Regions from separate parts of the Homo sapiens genome. Here region 2 is linked to region 1. Evidence: promoter capture Hi-C in 16 types of primary human blood cells and fetal thymus (Javierre and others, 2016). All regions are on one chromosome and are shown on one strand. Each heading gives the region's core, a stretch centred on a gene start or on the middle of the fragment in contact. The rest is flanking DNA. Distances are from core to core; before and after follow the strand shown.

Region 1 (5,520 bases), core at 1,329-3,828:
CACCCAGGCCATTCCCACAGCACCCAGGGCATTCCCATAGCATCCAGGGCACTCCCACAGCACCCAGGCCACTCCCATAGAGCTCAGGCCACTCCCACAGGGCTCATGCCACTCCCACAGTACCCAGGCCACTCCCACAGCACCCAAGCCACTCCCACAGTGTTCAGGCCACTCCCACAGCACCCGCTCCCCTCCCCGCACCTTGCACTGCAGGTAGGCAGTCTGGGGCCTGCCGGCGTCGTCCGTGTAGATGACCTGCATGACGTGCGAGCTGCCAAAGTTCTTTTCCTCAACCTTTTCTGCTGCCCGGATGTTGGCTAACTTGATGAGGGCGCTTTTCTGGGGCAGTCAGGGAGGAGGAGGCTCAGGGACCTAGCCAGGGGCATTCCATTCCCCATCTCTGGGCCTCAGTCTCCCCTTCTGCAGCACCAGGGGTAGGCGTGGGAGACCCAGAGTGACCTCAGCCAGGGCAGAGCACAGACTGATGGTGACCAAGTGCCCAGCAACTGGGAGAGGAGGACCTGGCCTCTCTGGGGGGCACTCCCAGAAGGCCTCGGAGGTGTGAGCTTTGGGGTAGTGTCTGGACAGCCAGCATTCCCTGGGCTACAAAGTCAATCCAGCCGTGGCCAAGGCTTTGTGACTTTGCATTTATTAATTTTCCAACTTGCTTTTGTAGTCCCAAGCTCTAACAGTCATATCCTGACCGGGCGCAGTGGCTCACACATGTAATCCCAGCATTTTGGGAGGCCGAGGAAGGCGGATCACCTGAGGTTGGGAGTTCGAGACCAGCCTGACAAACATGGAGAAACTCCGTGTCTACTAAAAATACAAAATTAGCCGGGCATGGTGGTGCATGCCTGTAATCCCAGCTACTTGGGAGGCTGAGGCAGGAGAATCGCTTGAACCCGGGAGGCGGAGGTTGCGGTGAGCCAAGATCGCACCATTGCACTCTGGCCGGGGCAACAAAAGTGAAACTCCATCTCAAAAAAAAAAAAAAAAATGGGACCAGAATTAAATAATGCCCATGTAGTCAAATCTTTCAACCCTGGCAAGGAAGATGTATAATAATCATCTGAGTGCTTTGGGAGGCTGGGGCAGGAGGATTGCCTGAGGCCAGGAGTTTGAGAACAGCCTGGGCAGCATAGCAAGACCCCATCTCTGCAAAAAAAAAATGTTAAAGAAAATTAGCTGGGCTTGGTGGCACGTGCCTGTAGTCCCAGCTACTCAGGAGGCTGAGGCAGGAAGATTGCTTGAGCCCAGGAGTTTGAGGCTGCAGTCAGCTATGATCGCACCACTGCACTACAGTCTGGGTGACAGAGCAAGACCCTGTCTCAAAAAATAATTATCATCATCTGAGGGGTCTTTGGTCGGAAGGGGCGGGCCCCTCATCTGGTGGGACCCCTGAGCTGGTTGAGAACAGGGTGGGTGATGAGCTCCTTCACCTACTCCTAGCCTGCTCTCACCTGCCCAGGGCTAGGCTGGGTACTCCTGGAAGATCATCCCCATAGCCTGCATGACTAGGGGCAGGTGTACAGCAAGCAGTCACCAGGTCCATGGAGGAAGTATGTCCTCAGCCCTTCCTGGGAGAAGAGAGCTTGCAGGAGAGGTGACCCATGACTCAGAGAGGGCTGTACAAGGTGATCTTTGAGATCCCCTCCCACACCAAGATTCCATGCTTCTATATTCCTGCCCGTTCCAGGAAGCCTCCCCTGTTTGCCCTAGCCTCCTACTCATCTAGCAGCCCAGGTGATGTACTATCTTTAATAATACCATTTGCCTAAATAGTACTACCTGCCAGGCCCTGGGTCAGGACCCTTAGGGAGATCATCTCATTTAATCCTCAACAACCTGGTAAGGTCGGATCAACTTCCTCCATATTCATTTTTTTTTTTGAGACGGAGTCTTGCTCTGTTGCCCAGGTTGGAGTGCAGTGGCACGATCTCGGCTCACTGCAACTTCTGCCTCCCGGGTTCAAGCGATTCCCGTGCCTCAGGCTCCCGAGTAGCTGGGACTACAGGCACCCACCACCACACCCGGCTGATTTTTTGTATTTTTAGTAGAGACGGGGTTTCTCCATGTTGGCCAGGCTGGTCTCAAACTCCTAACCTCAAGTGATCCACCCGCCTTGGCCTCCCAAAGTCCTGGGATTACAGGCGTGAGCCACCGTGCCCGGCCCTCCTAGGTTCTGACAAGCAGTACAGATGCCACACACCTGGCTTTCTTCTCTGACCCCGGGGGTACCTCAAGTGGGCTCCAAGGAAGGGGACAGGTGCCTCTAAGGTGCCCCACTTGCCGGCCTCTCAGAGCCCCACTTGCCGGCCTCCCTCCTTACCCACCTTGGAGCTGGGCGTCTTCGCGAAGCTGAGGGCCTCGGTAGTGAGGGAGAAGTAGAGCTTCTTGAAGGAGGAGGACATGAGGGGGCCCTTGCCCTTGGTCCTGTGGATGAAGAGTGGCCCCTCCTTCACAGGTGGCGCCTGCAAACTCAGCGTCCGCTGCAGGTCCAGCTCTGCCAGGCCAGGGAGGGAGGGGAATAGAGAGCCCAGGGAATGAGGGCGGGACTGGGGGGGGGGGGCGGAGCAGTGGGCGGGGCCATGGGGCTCAAGGGCTGAGCAAATCTGAACAGCAGGCAGTGGACGTAGTCATGGGGCTCAAGGGCGGAGCAAACATCAACAGCTGGTGGTGAGCGGGGTGACAGGTGGACTGAGGAAGGCAGGGCCATGGGCTTGGAGGCGGGACACGCGTCAGTAGCAGGTGGCGGCGGGGCTATGGAGCTCAAGGATGGAGCAAATGTCAACAGGCACAGATGATGGGAGGTGAGGCCATGGGTCTAGGGGTGGGGCAAACGTCAACAGCAGGCAGTGGGCAGGGTCACAGGAAGCACAAACAGTGGTGCGTGGGTCTATGGCCTGGGGGCCTGGCAAATGTCAACAGCAGGCGGTGGGTGGGGCCACGAGAGGAACAAACAGCGGTGGGTGGGGCCGTGGGGCTCAAGGGCGGAGCAAACGTCAGCAGTAGGCTGTGGGCGGGTCTGTGCAGGGCGGCGCTCACCGTCCTTCTCCTCGATGTCCACGAGCTTGGTGATGAAGTCCTTCAGCTGCGCCACGCCCTGGCGCACGGTGGGCTGCAGCGGCTCCATCCAAGCCTCCTTGGCCCTGGAAGCCGGCGTGTCCATGTTGCCCACGTTCTGGACTGCCTGGAGGTGACAGCAGGAAGGACCAGGTTCTGCTAGGTTAGGGGCCTAGCCACTGCACCCCCTCCCACCCCCCCTCCCCAAGTCTTTGCTACTCAGCTGTAGCGATGGAGGCAGAGGCGACAGAGGCCATGCCCACGGGCCCCCTCCAGCCCCACTAGGGATCAGGGAGGAGAGGATCATGAAGTTTGATGCCTTATGATAACTGAGACCACTTGGGCCTTCCTCTGTAGGTTTAACTGACGCTGCTGCACTGGATACCCCACCCCGGTGCCGGGCACATAGGTGCAGCCTGAGAGTAAGCAGACCTGGGTTGGAAGGTCCCGCGATTCACCACCGACAGGATGGGCGGCCTTGGCAACCCCCGACCCCTCGCAGGCCTGTTCCCTTATCCATGAGATGGAACTCGGACAAGGTGGCCACAGGAAGGCTTTGCAAACTGTGAAGTGCAGTGCCTACGTGGGCGTGCCAGTGGCCTCGCCGGAGCCGGTAGGGAACACTCTGCAGTCCAGGCCAGGGCCCCGGTAGGACACCCAGCTGTGCATCCCGCCCGTGGCCGCAAGGCCCGCACCTTGGCCAACAGGAGCAGGGTGCGGCTGGTGCGGGCGTCCGCGTGGCGCTCCCGCAGGTGGAAGAGCTTGGGCGACATGATGGCGGGAGAGAAGAAGCGCAGGCACAGGAAGCTGGTGACGGCGATGAACGGTACATTCTGGAGGGGTGCGGAAGAGCGCGGGCTGGAGTCCCCCAGACCAGGGCTCCTGGCAGCCCCCTCCCCTTAGGCTCCGTCCCTGACCCTCGCCGGGACACAGCCTCCCTGGTCCTCCCCAGCGCTCCCTGGTTCCCCACCGCTCTTCGCCCGCCCCTCGCCCCAGCCCAGTCCAACCCGGCCCAGCCTAGCCCAGCGGGTGGAGGGCGCACCTCGTGCTGGGCGCCGGGGAAGCGCTCGCGCACGCGCCGGAAGAGCTGGCGGAAGGTGGCGCGCACCACGGCGGGGCACGCGGGAACCGAGCGGCTGAGCGCGCTCAGCAGGGCCCCCAGGTGGGCGCGCAGCGTCTGCGCGCTCTGCTCCAGCACCTCGGCCTCGGTCTGCGGGCGGTGCAGCCCGGAACACCTGCGTGGAACGGGGCGGGTTGGCAGAGGAGGTCACGGTCAGCGCCAGGGCCACGACAGGAACAGTGGCTCTCACAGCAGCCGGGACACGGACACAGGGGACAATACACGGGTGGGCAGAAGCACAAACACACATGCTGACAGGGCCTGATCCCAACCCGCTGCCGCTGCGCCCCGCACCCCCCCGGAGTTACCCCCGGCCTCACCCTACATCCTTAACTTCCACTTTGCTGGGGTCCAGCTCCACGTACTTCTCCTCAAACACCTTGTTGATGATGGGGCCCAGGACGCCGTGCAGGTACTGCATCCCGGCCACCTGGGGACCACCGCAGGTCACATTGATCCTGTCTCCCCCAGTCCCACTCCAGCTGCCCACCTTCTCCCGGCAGCCGCCCTTGCACCGTTTGCCTGCCGTATCCGCCCAGGAGGGGGACAGGTACACAAGCAGGGCAAACTGTTTATTCATGAATGAATGAATGAGTGAGTGAATGAATGACTAGAATTCTTAGCCCTTGTAATCCTAGCACTTTGGGAGGCCGAGGCAGGAGGATCACTTGAGGCCAGGAGTTTGAGACCAGCCTGGGCAACATAGTGAGACTGTCTCTAACTTAAATTTTAATCACACACACATTCTTTTGGGGGGGGGGGGTGCGGGGCACGGAGTCTAGCACGGGGCCCAGGCTAGAGTGCAGTGGCGTGAGCTCACTACAATCTCTGGCTTCTGGTTCAAGTGAGTCTCCTGCCTCAGCCTCCCCAGTAGCTGGGATCACAGGTGCCCACCACCATGCCAGGCTAATTTTTGTATTTTTAGTAGAGATGGGGTTTCGCCATGTTGGCCAGGCTGGTCTCGAACTCCTGACCTTAAGTGATCCGCCCGCCTCAGCCTCCCAAAGTGCTGGAATTACAGGCATGAGCCACTATGCCCAGCCACATTCTTAACCTTAAAGGGCTCTCAATATGGAGATAGAACACTGGAGTCGAAGTCCCAGCCCCCTCTGTCGCTCTCTCTGAAGCTCAGTGTTGTCATTTGCAAGATGAGGACAATATAGCATGCAACCTCACCTTCAGAAAAGACTCCATGGACTTTGAGGCCAGAGAGTTGCTCCGGAACAGGGTGTTGGTCTTTTGTTACTTGGTCATAAGTAGGCGTTTTCCTTTTGATTTGGTTCTAGGAGGTTAGTGTGCATTGGCGTTCTGTTGCCTGCTTCCAGCCCCTATTC
Region 2 (5,691 bases), core at 164-2,663, 530 kb after region 1:
AAAGAAAGAAAAAAAAAAAGAATGCCCTTGTTTTCAAAAACCCTCCATCTTCTGTATCCTTTGAATTTTTAATATGTGACTATTACATTTTTTTAAAAAATCAAATTTTCAGCCCCCATTGCATATTTTGGTAACAACCCTCTGGTCTTTTCACCCTCAAATGTGCAGGGATCCCTCCCACCCCAGGGAATTTGCACATGCTGTCTCCCCTGCTAGGATTGCTGTTCCCTCCCACCCTTCCCATCTCAGCATAAACCTCACTTTCTCAAGGAAGGCAGCATTCTCTCCAACTGGGTGAGGGCCCCTTATAGCCCTCCAGTACCCTGAACTCCCAACATGACTATTGAGCAGTCTGCATTGGCTGACCATCTCTGCTCCTTGCCTCATAGACTGTGCCTTGTCCATCTGATTCCAGACCATAGCACAGTCCACACAGCCAGGCACCCATTCAGGTATACATGTGGGCAAAACTGTGCCAGCCCAGAGTGGAGAGGCCACTGCATTCTCCTGACCTTCCTGCTTCAGCCCAGGGCGTCACCAGCCTGAAAACCATCCAAGCTTCTCTGCTGTTTAGTGAAGCCTTAGGCTTCCACGCAGCATGTGCCACACCTCCTTCCTCCCTTCCAGGCCCACATGCCCTCTGTGCTGTTTGGCCCTGGACAGCCCTAGGTTCATTTGCCCATAGCACACATACCCTCATCCAAGGCCTGCCCCAGTCCTGATTTGCACATTTGTGCAAAGGGCACAGGCTTTGGCCAGACTAAGTCCAAGAGGCCAACCCTGAGTGCCTGTTTGTTCACACGTAAATGGGCACATGGTACCTGCCTCCCAGGTGGGGTGTTGAACGAGCCATTTATACTTACTTTCTCTCTGTAGTCTCAGGACACGAAGATGGACCTTCCTGTTCTTTATTTTTTAAAGATAGAGTCTCACGGCCAGGCATGGTGGCTCACGCCTGTAATCCCAGCACTTTGGGAGGCCGAGGTGGGTGGATCACCTGAGGTCAGAAGTTCAAGACCAGCCTGACCAACATGGTGAAACTCTGTCTCTACTAAAAATATAAAAAACTTAGCCAGGCGTGGTGGCGGCCACCTGTAATCCCAGCTACTCAGGAGGTTGAGGCGGGAAGAATTGCTTGAACCCAGGAGGCAGAGGTTGCAGTGAGCTGAGATTGCACCACCACACTCCAGCCTGGGCAACAAAGTGAGACTCTGTCTCAAAAAAAAAGAGAGAGAGTGTCTCAGTATGTTGCCCAGGATGGAGTGCAGTTGCGTGATCATACAGCCTCGAACTTCTGGGCTCAAGCAATCCTCCCATTCTTTCCAATGCCCTGGCCCCAGAGCGCCCACATGGTGCCTAACCCCACAGCAAAAGCCCCCGTGGTACCAGCTACTCCACCAGGGTGGACAGGCCAGAACCCAAATCTTGCAAAGAACCTCATTCACCAGGCAACTTCTAAGCCTCATCTTCCCCACCTAAAACATAGAAATAGCTTCCCCCAGGGATGCCGTTAGGAGGAAGGAATGTACACTTTGAACAAACAGCCTCCATATCTTTACCCAAGCTCCTCTGCTCCGGGCCCAGACCCTGCTATCCCCAGGCACGAATACAGCATAAGGCTGGCTCCATGTTCCTCTACCCCACCCCCCAAAGAAGGAAATCACTGGGGAAACCAATCTCCTCTCCATCAGGGTGGCTCTGGGATACAAGCTCTTGGTAGGGTGTGCTTGGAAGTGACAGGGTCAGAGAGATAAACATAGTGGAGACAGACTGTGCATCACTTTAGAACACAGCTTGGCTAAAACATCCAGAGCACTCACTGTCCCCAGGACCAGCCTCAGCACTCCATGAAGCCAGGTGGGAAGGCCAACCTAGGGCAAGGACCAGGCCTCAGCACTGCAGGCACTCTCTGCCCTGTCTTGTCTTCCAAGAGGTGGCAGCGATGCCCACTGATAGGGTCTGTGCAGTTGACAGATGTCTCCCAGCAGATGCTCAAATGGTTGCTCTTTATCTCCAGTTCCATTAACTCTTTGTCCTTCTGAATACTGCTAACCACCAAACTGCAAGAATATCGTCTGCAGCTCCTTAGCAGCTCTAGTTCACACCTGCCCAGAAAGTACCACTGTCCTGCCCCCATCATACACACTGGCTTCGTGGAAATCCTTGGGTGTTAACAGAAGAGGAGCAGGGATCATGGAGGCCCCAAATCTCGGGTCCTGCTAGCTTCAGTCCTACCATGACCAAAGACACAGACTCCTTCGTCTCTGTATAAGCTTTTGCCGAGAAAAAACTTGGTTCTTTCTAAAATACTCAGGCACTCTCCTAGTTTCTCCCCACTCTCCTGCTGCCCCAACCTCCTCATGCCCCCAGCATGGCCTTGTGACGCCTGGTAAGCAGGTGACATGCAATCTAGGACCCCAAGCCAGCAGAGAAGCCCAGCCTTCAGGCTGAGAAGGCAGCTGGAGAGCTCAGGCCAGGGCATAAGGGACAGTACACATGTGTGTATGTCACACCACCGCTTATGCACATAACACACAGACACAGCTCACACATCAACAGTTGTTCAGAAAGGGACCAGCAGATAGCTGCCCCGGCTCCTCTAAGGAAGAGCAGGCAGCTTCCCCCCGAATCTACATGTGCGTGTGCTCGGGGAGAGGAAGGCTGGCGGTCAGGAAGGCCCATCTCCCAGCCTGATCCCAGGCAGCAGGGCTGCAGGAGCTGGGCAGGAAGGCTCTGGGCCGGCCATAGCCACCTGCCAGCAAGGGCAGGCTTCTCTTCTCATGGCTGGGGCAGCTCGGCACAGCTGACCTCTGCTGGCCAAGTGAAGCACTGCATGCAGCCACAGAGCCAGGCACAGCTGTCTTCCGAAGTTTCCCGACTCCTGATGTTTTGGGGATTCAAATAGTCCTTTTCATATGCTGGAGGCACAAACTGGGGCAGCTAAAATTTTTATTCTGTTGTCAAGGGGCAAGATGCCAGCTTGGAAGTGCCAAGGAGCTAAAGGGCCCAGCACTGCCGGCCCCAGAACTGTCTGTTCAGGCTGTGCAGTAAGCACCAGAGCCTCGCCTGTCCACGAAGGGTGTAAGCCTGTGCTCCACAATGTGCTCAGCTCCAGAGAGGCCCAACAACCTCAGGAGGGCTTGGCTGTGGGTCTGAATTTCTTTCCTTTGTGCTTGAAGCTGCGCAGTGGGTTCTGGGACTTTGCTCTCTAAGGAGGCAAAGTCACAGGTTAGTTGGGGGAATCAGGCCGACAGACAATCCACCCACCCACCCACCCAACTGAGAAAGACACAAAGGGAGCCGTGCCGGCAACTGGCCAACACGACCAGAAGGTGCTGCAGATAAGGAAATGGGGAAAGGCAGCTGGGGAAAGAAAAGCAGGGCCTGCAGGCGGCTGCAAAAGTACCCCTATCCCACACCAGATTTTTGGGGCCCGGTTCTAGGGTGCCCCCTCTTCCCCTCCCTAGGGCACCCTCTCTTCCCCTCCCTAGGGCAAGGCGCCTCCACATTCTGGTGATGACAAAAGAGCAGGTTGGGAGGAGTCCTGGGGCTGTCCGCAGTCCCCAGGAGCCGTACCTTGGCCTTCCTACAAGAGGAAGACAGCTTCTTCCGCTTCTTGTGAGGGCGCACCAGGCCACGGAGAGCAGGAGGAACTGGAAGAGATGCTTGCCTGAGCAGTGGGCTCACCGCTACTGCTCCCATCCCTGCCCTCCCGCTGATTCTGCAGCAAATTCTCCAATTCTGACCCAACTGGCAGCCTATGACATACATCTATTCACTACCACATCTGCACAGGGCCAGGAGAATGTGAGCACCTTAGACTTCCACTATTTAAATCACTCTCCTATATTGTTTAGATTTGTTACAACAAACATGTAACAAGAAAGAAAAAGACAGACATCCTTAAAGAAAGAAAATGCAGCTGAAATAAAAGTCAACAGGTAGTTTCTTCACCTGTGGCCCATTACTACCGATACAGGGGGCCCCGCATCCCAGCTGCACCTGATCTTGGCTCTATCTTCACCTCGCCCACCCCATGGACTCCCCCAGGCCAACCACACCTGGGCCCTCCCCTTCAAATGTCAAACATCCCACATCCTGACACCTTTCCACCTTCTCCTGGCCCTTCTAAACCTCCTGGCCACACCTTGGCAAATGACTCCGCTATACGAGCAGACTGGGTTCCTGAGGCCAAAGTTCTAGCCTTACCTTCTCCCTCCCTACCCACCCTCCCAACTCCCCTCCTCACATCTCAGGCCAGGACCTGGACTGGGGTCTCCTCCAGCTCACTGTCCCATGGGAACCCGGCCCCCACCGCTCTCTCTGGCATTTTCATGTTCCCATCTCTTCTGGATCCTTCCTTTCCCAGTGCCCAGGCTTTTCCTGCCCTGGAACATTCCATCTCCACCCTTTGTCACCTCCATAGCAGCAACACCACACCCGCTGGGTGGCTGCAGGTCCAGGCTGAGCAGACCCTGTGGCATTGGGAAGGGTCCTGCACTTGCTGCCCACAGCCTCCTCTCCACCACTCTCCTCCTTCAATCCATTTTAGGCATAAAAGTCACACATACTCATTACCAAAAACACCTCCTATGAGACACTGAAAGAAGTCATTACCCAGAGCCTGCCAAAGATGAGGAGAGGTGCCCAGTATTAATGGCCACATAAAGCTCTAGCCTGGGCTGCACTACAGAAACCAATCCCAGGGTCCTGACCTCATGCCTGCCAACCCCTGCATCCCTCGCACCACCACTGGCTCTTCTCTTGCTACCTTGTCGGTTTAGGCCTTACAGAGTCTGTCTCCCTGCTGACTGTTCTTACCCAGAGACTCCACAGATGCCTCTTCAGCAGCTGCTAATCTTGAGTCTTTTGCAGCACAGGTGGCTCTCTCTGCCTCCTGCCCGTGACTCTCTCCCAAACCTGTTCACTCCCTTCGACCCATGGATGGCCATTTGGCCCAGCTCTGGAGACGACCTGGCCTGAAATGCTGGGTCTGCCACCCACCCTGCACTACCTCAATTTCCTCATCTCTAAAATGGAGACAGCAACAGCTAACCCGTGGGACCAAGCAAACAAGTTTAGAAACACAGGGGTGTGCCTGTTTACATGCCCGCGTGCTGCCAGGGTCTCCAGGTTCTATTCTGCCTGAGCATCCCCAGCACCAAGCACAGGGGCTGACCCAGCAGTGGAGAAATTAATGCCACTTCCCCAGCCTGCTGCCTCCTGCCCTGTCAGGCCACACTCACCCAGGTAGTCAGGAACATGGCCCAGGTGGGGCTTCACCACTGCGGGGTGCAAAGGTAGGTCATGCCGCAGCAGCTGGAGGTCCCTAGGGTTGTCTTCAAAGTATGTCTGCCGGGGGAAGAGGGAGAGCCACAGAGTGAGCATCTTTCTTCTGTGACTTCACAGACCTAGCTTTTCAAAGGATAACACACTCATGTGTTTCAAAAGGCATGAGGCAGCTGCTTCTGTGCATTTCTCAGAACCTCCCGGGAGTGGATGTTTCCATTTTCCCTTCTCCATGACACACATGGCAGTACCCTGTACCCCTTTTTGCTGGGCATCATCTTACAGACTGTTCCATATGGACACGCAACCAACCTCATTCCTTCCCATGTAACCTTCGGCTCTGAATGCACCTGAGTTTACCTAGCAAGCCCCCTATGGTGGCCCCAGGCTGTTTCCATCTTT

Evidence for each region. Contacts are between HindIII fragments. The CHiCAGO score rates a contact against its expected background, and 5 or more counts as called.
Region 2: a fragment that was not itself captured here is called in contact with the fragment with the promoter of LINC00957 in region 1 in 1 of 17 cell types (endothelial precursors); the score reaches 6.0 in endothelial precursors.

The regions. Positions count from the first base shown.
Region 1 is chr7:44,036,471-44,041,990 of GRCh38, forward strand. LINC00957 (long intergenic non-protein coding RNA 957) reads left to right here and starts at 2,579. Exons shown (of 3, transcript NR_072982.1): 1 at 2,579-2,679; 2 at 3,424-3,892. It also overlaps the pseudogene RASA4CP. RefSeq lists an enhancer at 1-413 and silencers at 3,865-3,954, 4,045-4,154. The HindIII fragment of the contact is 32,056 bases long and covers 1-5,520 here.
Region 2 is chr7:44,562,872-44,568,562 of GRCh38, forward strand. DDX56 (DEAD-box helicase 56) reads right to left here. Exons shown (of 14, transcript NM_019082.4): 12 at 5,247-5,352; 13 at 3,577-3,653; 14 at 2,933-3,208. The coding sequence ends at 3,131. Among named protein-coding and RNA genes, the nearest start is that of DDX56, 8.2 kb to the right of the region's middle. RefSeq lists a silencer at 2,728-2,939 and an enhancer at 2,793-3,292. The HindIII fragment of the contact is 1,715 bases long and covers 557-2,271 here.